3 separate regions of the Homo sapiens genome follow, and regions 2 and 3 are each linked to region 1. The links are contacts of gene promoters, found by promoter capture Hi-C in blood cells and fetal thymus (Javierre and others, 2016). All regions are on one chromosome and are shown on one strand. The core of a region is centred on a gene start or on the middle of the fragment in contact, and the rest is flanking DNA. Distances in the headings are between cores, read along the strand shown. Region 1 holds the start of SPMIP7 (sperm microtubule inner protein 7). Region 2 overlaps IKZF1 (IKAROS family zinc finger 1). Region 3 overlaps IKZF1 (IKAROS family zinc finger 1).

Evidence for each region. The method cuts DNA at HindIII sites, captures the fragments that hold promoters and counts their contacts. A CHiCAGO score of 5 or more calls a contact.
Region 2: a fragment that was not itself captured here is called in contact with the fragment with the promoter of SPMIP7 in region 1 in 11 of 17 cell types (naive CD8 T cells, naive CD4 T cells, total CD8 T cells and 8 more); the score reaches 14.8 in naive CD8 T cells.
Region 3: a contact is called between a fragment that was not itself captured here and the fragment with the promoter of SPMIP7 in region 1, in 8 of 17 cell types (total CD8 T cells, total CD4 T cells, naive CD4 T cells and 5 more). The highest score is 11.4, in total CD8 T cells.

The regions. Positions count from the first base shown.
Region 1 is chr7:50,094,480-50,097,416 of GRCh38, forward strand. SPMIP7 (sperm microtubule inner protein 7) reads left to right here and starts at 1,404. Exons shown (of 9, transcript NM_001161834.3): 1 at 1,404-2,159. The coding sequence starts at 1,607. The HindIII fragment of the contact is 3,144 bases long and covers 1-2,423 here.
Region 2 is chr7:50,378,833-50,381,714 of GRCh38, forward strand. The region is part of intron 4 of IKZF1 (IKAROS family zinc finger 1); the gene reads left to right. Among named protein-coding and RNA genes, the nearest start is that of FIGNL1, 70 kb to the right of the region's middle. RefSeq lists enhancers at 1-442, 443-948. The HindIII fragment of the contact is 8,997 bases long and covers 1-2,882 here.
Region 3 is chr7:50,398,090-50,400,861 of GRCh38, forward strand. It overlaps IKZF1 (IKAROS family zinc finger 1), which reads left to right. Exons shown (of 8, transcript NM_006060.6): 8 at 1,829-2,772. The coding sequence ends at 2,538. Among named protein-coding and RNA genes, the nearest start is that of FIGNL1, 51 kb to the right of the region's middle. The HindIII fragment of the contact is 4,416 bases long and covers 1-2,772 here.

The sequences.
Region 1 (2,937 bases), core at 154-2,653:
GCTGGAAGGATTTACTTAATGGGAGCAGAGCTGTGATAGAAATAAATCTTAAGCAGTTGGTTTAAATACATTGAAGAATGAAGTTTGAGCAACTAAATGTAGAATGCCTAATTACAAGTGAGTTATCACTTTTGATATGAAGAAATGAGTGATCATGGGTGGACTAAAAACTGTCACTTGATATGCTATGATCTGGATGAAGGATTTAAAACTGACAGCCTAACCACCTAATTTAATCTCACTTGTTTAATAGTATATCTCAAAATTGTAAAGACTTTCAATGGGGCATAGGCATTCTGATTGTACCAAACATATCACCCTTGACAGTTGGCCTGATTAACGATTATGTGCCTGACTCTTCAAAGCTAGAATCTTGCCTGTTTTAACATTTTTGCTGCAGTAAGGATGATGTGAACTTTTACCCCAAATTCTAATATTTGCATTTCCTCTTATAGTAGTTCATGCAAGATGAAATTATCCAGGTGAAAGAGCTTTTAAGTGAACCAATACATTAGTGATTTAAATGATATTTTGTGTGTAGACAGTTAACTGATACCCATTGTGGTTTCCTAAAATGAACTTAAAACTCTTACTGTTCTTACTCTGGACACCATGGCAAATTTAAGGGAAGTAAAGATAATTTAGGGCATGTAAAGATGTACCTGTACTTTCATTATAATTTTCTGTTTTTCTTAAAAATTAGATATACTAGGGCTGGGCACAGTGGCTCACACCTGTAATCCCAGCACTTTGGGAGGCCGAGGCGGGCAGATCACAAGGTCAGGAGATCGAGACCATCCTGGCTAACACAGTGAAACCCCATCTCTACTAAAAATACAAAAAATTAGCCGGGCATGGTGGCGGGCGCCTGCAGTCCCAGCTGCTTGGGAGGCTGAGGCAGGAGAATGGCGTGAACCTGGGAGGCGGAGCTTGCAGTGAGCCAAGATCACACCACTGCACTCCAGCCTAGGCGACAGAGTGAGACTCCACCAAAAAAAAAAAATTAGATGTACCAATTTAACTTTAGTAATGTTTATATTTTGTAGTGCATTTAGATTTACATTTAATTAGATAGCAAGTGTTATATATATAAATACTTAATTGTAGTCACATATATACTTTTGAGAAATGTATTGTCACTGAATTAACTGCTTTATTTACACTCCTTAAATATATTTTATACCCATAAAATACCAACTTATGGAAAAATTTTAAAATAAGTAAATGAACACAGCTTTCCTGAGCACTGGGGAGAAAAGTATCATGGAAATATTAGTACCAAGGCTATTTTTGTTTTTCTTAAGAATTGTGATGTACATAATAAATGGTTCAATGTGTTAAGAATTCTAGCCGTTGCCAGGCAACAAGGGCTCTGCTTTATTCTCCTTATGTCATGTTCCTTCATTGCCCTATTCTTCCTTTGGTGGAGGAAAATATTTGCCTTAAAAAGAAAAACAAAATTATCTGCCAACATTTAGAAAGCTGTGTCAATTTTATACTAGTTTAACACAGATCTTTAGTTATTGGCAATAGAGTTTATATAGTTAAATATAAAGGAATTATCAGAAATACTTTATAGTTATCAAAAATTCTAAAGAAAAAGGCCATGGATGTAGAAATTCAGGACACACCTGGAAAGATAAGTATCTCTAAAAGGTCCATCCTTTCAGGAACTGTTGAGAATATAGATTACCCACACTATTGTGATCTCTTAAGAAAAATGAACATGCCTTTTGTGAAAGGTCTTGAGAACAGACATAACTATGGCAGGTTTGAAAAGAAATGCAACCCTGCTTTTCTTAAATTTCACCCTTATCCCCCTTCAGTTTTGCCAGACTATCATTTACATGATCCTTATCCCCCACCATATGGGCCACATTATCCATTATTTCCACTTCGGGATGATGTGACCTTAGGTGATTCCTGTTCAGGGTTTATGAGTCCTGGTGGTGATGCTGATTTAAATCCTGGCATTGGCAGAACCATACCAACCCTAGTGGATTTTAGTGATGTGAAACCTCAACATCGAGTTCCCAGACCAGACACAGGATTTCAAACAACAATAAAAAGGCAAAAAATTCTATCAGAAGAACTGCAACAGAACAGGAGATGGAATTCCAGGGAAGTACCAGACATTTCTATCAGAGCAAGACTTGGAGGTAAATGAAGTGACATGAACTTTCTATTTTTTAAATGCTCAAGGGAAGAGAGTATGGACATAAGATTCAATATTTAGGCAGTTAAATTAACAAAATTACAATGATCTGAAAAAGGTTTTATTTTTAAATTACAGATTATAAGAAACAAAGGAATGATAAACCTTATAAACTTATTTGTAAAAGAAAATTTATTCTTTAAGAAAAGAACATTCATTAGTGATTAACACAAAGTATATAACATTATTTATTCTAGATATATGGATAAGCTTGTTTTACCACAGGGGAATTTATGTATCACTTTGATAATTGTATAGAAATCCTCCTTATCTGTCTCTCTCCTTTGAAAGAATGAATTCACTGATATTATGAAAGAGTTAGTTTTAAGGATTGAAATAAAATGGGAAAAATTTAAGTACTTGAACGTACATTTTTTGGCTCCAATAAGAACAGAAGCTGAAATGAAGCAAACTCTGCATAAATAGCTCCACAGCCATGGAGGCAGGTTTGATGACCTCTTACTGACATCTGCACCATGTGGTTTCTCTGTAAGAACTCCTGTAAATGGAGTTCCTCTAAATGATGAGAAACACCTCCAAAGGAAAGCCACAGGTACTATTTTCTGTATAAAAGCTGTCTGGCAGGCAGGAATGTAAAAAGATCAACATTTTTAGCATCGGAAAAGGAAAGGGCCAAATGCTATAGGAAGAATACTTTTAAACATTATTCTAAGAAATTATAGGTTGAAGAAATGGCTTAGCAAAGCTAACATAGGGCTAAA
Region 2 (2,882 bases), core at 157-2,656, 280 kb after region 1:
AGCAATGAACTCATGAATTGTTTTCATCATGCATTTCCACTTGCCTAAATATAAAGGGTCCCAGGTAGATACAGAAATACCTGGTTTGGCCAAACTTGGTTTGAATAACTAGACATGCTAGAAAAGGTTTTCATTTTCCTGGGATCTGAGTGGAATATGTTAGAAAAGGCATGCTTTCTGAATTCTCTATGCTTAAAACATTTCTAGAGCAGTGCTTCTCAAACTTGAAAGAGCATGTAAATCACCTGAGATCTCGTGAACATACAACTCTGCTTCAGACCTGGGGGGAGGCAGGAGAGCAAGCATTCCTAACAAGCTCCCAGCTTGTGGAGCACAGAGCCGCCTCAGGCAGCAGGGCAGTGCAGCTGAGCAGTGACAGTGAACAGGGCCATTCAGAGGGCTCTCCACCTGGGGCTTAGGTACGACGGGAATCCCCACTGGACAGGCTAGGACTTGCACTGTGGCCATTGTTCCTCCTCCTGCCCATGGCTGAGTCAGCTTCTCAGTCCCTTCCAGGATACACTGAGAGGATTCAGGGGCGGTCTCGCCTCTGCCCATATCCCCACGTTGGTGAAGTACCACTGGCGCCATTTTCTAATCAGCTCATCGGCACCAGCACGTCACTTCCCCTGTTGTGCAGCTCAGTTTTATATTTCTGACTCGGGTGTAATAGTAACATCTTCCCCACCAATGTCTCAGGGTTATTGTGAGAACCAGAGAGGAGAGAGGTAGGAAGGAAGCAGGAAATGCAGGGTGCAAATACACCACATTATTATTCTAAATAATGGGATTTTTAATAACAAAGACCAAGAAGATTGTCTGTGCCTATCTAGTTCCCATCTGTAAGATAAAAAGGTGCAGTCCCTGAGCCTCCTAAAAACAGCACCCTAATGGCACTGCTCCTCCCAGGTATGATTGCAGTAGACCTACGTCAGTTCTTGCAGTTCAAACACATTTTTTCACTTTCTTCTGAAATGCCCTCAAATTCTATGACATAGTATCCATGAAGACTTCCCTTTTTACCCAGTGAAGTTACTAGAGGGGGTTCAAACCTTCTTACAGAGGGTTCCTAAAATGGGAGATCTGTGGAGTCATTGGGATTAAAAATTAAATTTCAAATTCATGACATCAATGTCCTCATCCCAGTTAAATAAAAGTAAATACAACCTTGAAGAAATTTGACCTACTCAGCTGCAATAGCTGTTGACCTGCAGAAGGCAAATGATGGACCCCGGCCACGCAAGAACACACATGGCGTGGGCTGCGTTCTTGTGCCCCAGCTCCATGGACGTGTCTTCTTAGCTGTGGACCCCTCCAAAGGAAACTGCTTGAGTGGAGTGCTCTGTATTGTCACTCCTGGGAATGCTCTCTTAACACCCCCATGCCTTGTGCTATGTGTTCATACCAGCATAGGCACTCAGAAGCAAAAAAGGTTTCCAGTGAAATTTGTTTGCAGGCAGGTATTAAGACATCAGACACTGCAGGATCCAAGTGAACCCCTGCCCGCCTGCCTGCCTGCCCTGCTCTGCTCTGCAGAAGGGCATGTGTCTGTAGCAATCTGCCCTTTCTGTCTGCGATGGGCAGAGACCCTGGCTCTGCCTCCTGTTTTCCCTGTAGCCCTCCAGACCTGGGGAGAGACATGGGACTCCAGCACCTGCCCAGCACGGAAGGGGGTCTTTCCCAGGTGTAAGTGTAGGGCTGCATTCACTAATTTAGGGTCATACCACAAACACTGTTGTGTCACCAGGATGTTGTCACATGCTTATTGTGAGCATTTTTGTGACATGAGCTTTCTCCTGAGAGGCCACCCTGTCCAAATGAGAGCTGTAGTTGGAGGCACATCCGTCTCATGCTGCCTGGGTCTCCCTGCACCAGCTCACTCTACTTTTCCTTTTTATCCACTTGGAGTTAAATGCACACATTTATGCACAAGTGCACAGAAGGCCCAGAACTGTTCCTAATAGATAATTAAATGATCTCTCTCCAGTGGAAACTCTCCTGGGCTACCTGGCTGCTAGCTGTTTTAGCCTCTTCATCCAGTATTGATTTACATGCATCGGTTTGTAACTCAGACAGTATAGTTAGTTAGTTTGTTTCACCATCACCTTCCAACCTGCTTACGTTTAAACTCCTTCTCTCTGCTTAGCTAATACAGATTTCTGTAAGGATTTGGAGAAATACCAGATACCTCCTGGTTAGTATCAGGACCTCTCCATTGGCCTATAATTGAACATCACTGTAAATTAGTTTCAGCTTTTATAGTAATGCATCTAACCCGCCAGCTTAAAAAAAAAGTGATGATAATCATGAAATTCAAGTGTCAATATAGACTTTTAAATCTGGTGTGGATGTTAATAGTGCCAGATATGCTTCTGTGTAATCATTTTTGAGAAGTGCTGTCTTCTTTACCATAATCACATTAATCAATCGGGAAATGGTTAAATAGACATTTTAATACATTGTTTTTTCCTGAGAAAAAAAGTGACTCCAGGAAATATGTTGTTACAATATCTCAACACCAGGAATTGTGGTCACATAGCATTCTTCTTCTAAATAAAGCATTTGTTTTACAAAAGAGTTTCATGTTTACTTAAACGTGACAAATGTATCACTCTTCGAAGTGAGAGTTAAATGAAATGTTCCCTGATTTAGATTCCAAGACCTGTGACTACTCAGTAGGACAATAGCATATTTCTTTTACTCAGATACCTGTTTATCCCTTTGTCAGCTCCAGAATGGAGACACAGGTGCTGCCACACAGAGGAGAGGGTCAGGTGTTTTCTTAGTCACAAATGCAGCAGTCTCACCCCTGAAAGAATTCCTTCATAACAACTAAATTGCACCTCTTAGAATACCTGTACTTAAAATATAATTTGTCTTCT
Region 3 (2,772 bases), core at 16-2,515, 300 kb after region 1:
AGTAAGAACCAGCTGATGACCTCAGTGTCAGGTGCATCGTGGAAGGTGTTGGGACCTTCCCTTGCCACCACCCTCACCAGCCATCATCAGCCATAACCTGCACATTGGGGAAGTTTTGACTTATCCCTCACTTTTGCCCCTCTTCAAGCTGTTCTTTCCACAGTGAATGAGAAGGCCACTTCTTCCTTCAAACCTTTCAGTGGTTTCCATTTTCCTTTAGACAAAGTCTCTGCCTAGCTGGCCTCTGCCTGCCCCTCCTGCCTACCTCTCGAGCACTGCCCCCACCTAGGGCTCTGGTTCCCCAACCTTCACTCGGTCCTGCCACACCTCCCAGCCCCTTCTCCCTTCAGAACTTTCCTTCTTGTTGTCCCCAACACTGGGACACAAAACCCTCCTTATCAACCCTCCTTATCTGGCTGACTCTTACAAGATCAGAAACCTGTGTAATGCTCTCATGGCACGCTCCCCTTGTCTTCGTGGATTTCTCAGATGGGAAGGAATTATCCATGCAATCACACATAAACTTCTACCTACCCTCCCCTAGTAGCTGTCTGCTGCTAAGGATGGGGACCATTCTCACTTACTCACTGTTCTGTCCCTCTGCCCAGTCCAGATGTGTTGAAGGATGGAAATATACAGAGTAGTGGTAAAATATAAACCGTTCAGACATTCCAAGGATGGGCTCATGTGCTTTGACTCATTAATGTACCACTGCTGAAAACAGAACACAGCCGCAGTCTTGCCAGTAAGAGTGCAGTTACTGTAATTAATGAATTTGCTAATTAAGCCATGATTTCATACTGAACTTATGACCAACATATTGAGAAGGTGTGTCTTCAAGAAAATTTATTTTTTGTATTAAGATATTTACTCCAAAGCTAATTGAAGAAGCCAAATCTAGGCTCTGGTTTCACCATTGCCAGGGAAATGAGCTCATGGACTCCTATGAACTGATGATGTTAGATCAGAAGTTTCTCAAGGCCAGGGCCCAATCACTGCTGAGGCGTCAACAGTAGTTCCTTGTACATCAATAATTCTCATTACTTTTAAAAAATAACAGATGAATAGCAACTATTTTCCCTGTAGCTCCCTTGCTGTGCCTCCTACCCTCCACCACATGTTTCTGGGGAGCCCTGCTTCGGGCCTGCCAACTACAGAGAATTACTTTTGAGTATCCCTTCCACTCTCATCTCAAGACAGAGTTCATCTACCTTTGGGTTATTTGTCAAAAATGTGTCATTTTATTACAAAAAATATACAATCATCATGTATTTTGATTAAATTTTACACTAGATTATTAAAATTATTAAATACAATTATTAAAATTAATAATTTAACATATCACATATTTTAAATATATTGTATATAATGAATAATAATATAATTATTGTCTATTTTAATTCAATAAATGTATAGTAAGTTAGCCAGTTGTAAATTACTGAGAACACTCTACTGAAAAAGCATCATTTCAAATACACTATTTAAAATATTAAATGAAATACAATAACATAATTAAACTAATCTTTGGTTCCCCTATTTATGTATTCATTTATCCAACAAAATCTCCTTAAGTGCTTATAATGGGTAGGTCCTGGCTCGGTGTCCCCTAGACAGACGCATGGGCCTTCCCCCAGCCCGTCAGTATGGTGCAGGTGTGATGTGTCCGCAGGTGTGTGTGTATGTGTGCAGGTGTGGGGTCCGCAGGCGTGCTGGGCCCCCAGGCCGTGTTCCCCTTCCCCTCCCCGGTTGTAGATTTCAGCTGTTGCTGCCAGACCTGACCGGTTCCGGAGGTGGCCGCGCCCCACTCACTGTCGCCTGCTTTCCACAGGGGACAAGGGCCTGTCCGACACGCCCTACGACAGCAGCGCCAGCTACGAGAAGGAGAACGAAATGATGAAGTCCCACGTGATGGACCAAGCCATCAACAACGCCATCAACTACCTGGGGGCCGAGTCCCTGCGCCCGCTGGTGCAGACGCCCCCGGGCGGTTCCGAGGTGGTCCCGGTCATCAGCCCGATGTACCAGCTGCACAAGCCGCTCGCGGAGGGCACCCCGCGCTCCAACCACTCGGCCCAGGACAGCGCCGTGGAGAACCTGCTGCTGCTCTCCAAGGCCAAGTTGGTGCCCTCGGAGCGCGAGGCGTCCCCGAGCAACAGCTGCCAAGACTCCACGGACACCGAGAGCAACAACGAGGAGCAGCGCAGCGGTCTCATCTACCTGACCAACCACATCGCCCCGCACGCGCGCAACGGGCTGTCGCTCAAGGAGGAGCACCGCGCCTACGACCTGCTGCGCGCCGCCTCCGAGAACTCGCAGGACGCGCTCCGCGTGGTCAGCACCAGCGGGGAGCAGATGAAGGTGTACAAGTGCGAACACTGCCGGGTGCTCTTCCTGGATCACGTCATGTACACCATCCACATGGGCTGCCACGGCTTCCGTGATCCTTTTGAGTGCAACATGTGCGGCTACCACAGCCAGGACCGGTACGAGTTCTCGTCGCACATAACGCGAGGGGAGCACCGCTTCCACATGAGCTAAAGCCCTCCCGCGCCCCCACCCCAGACCCCGAGCCACCCCAGGAAAAGCACAAGGACTGCCGCCTTCTCGCTCCCGCCAGCAGCATAGACTGGACTGGACCAGACAATGTTGTGTTTGGATTTGTAACTGTTTTTTGTTTTTTGTTTGAGTTGGTTGATTGGGGTTTGATTTGCTTTTGAAAAGATTTTTATTTTTAGAGGCAGGGCTGCATTGGGAGCATCCAGAACTGCTACC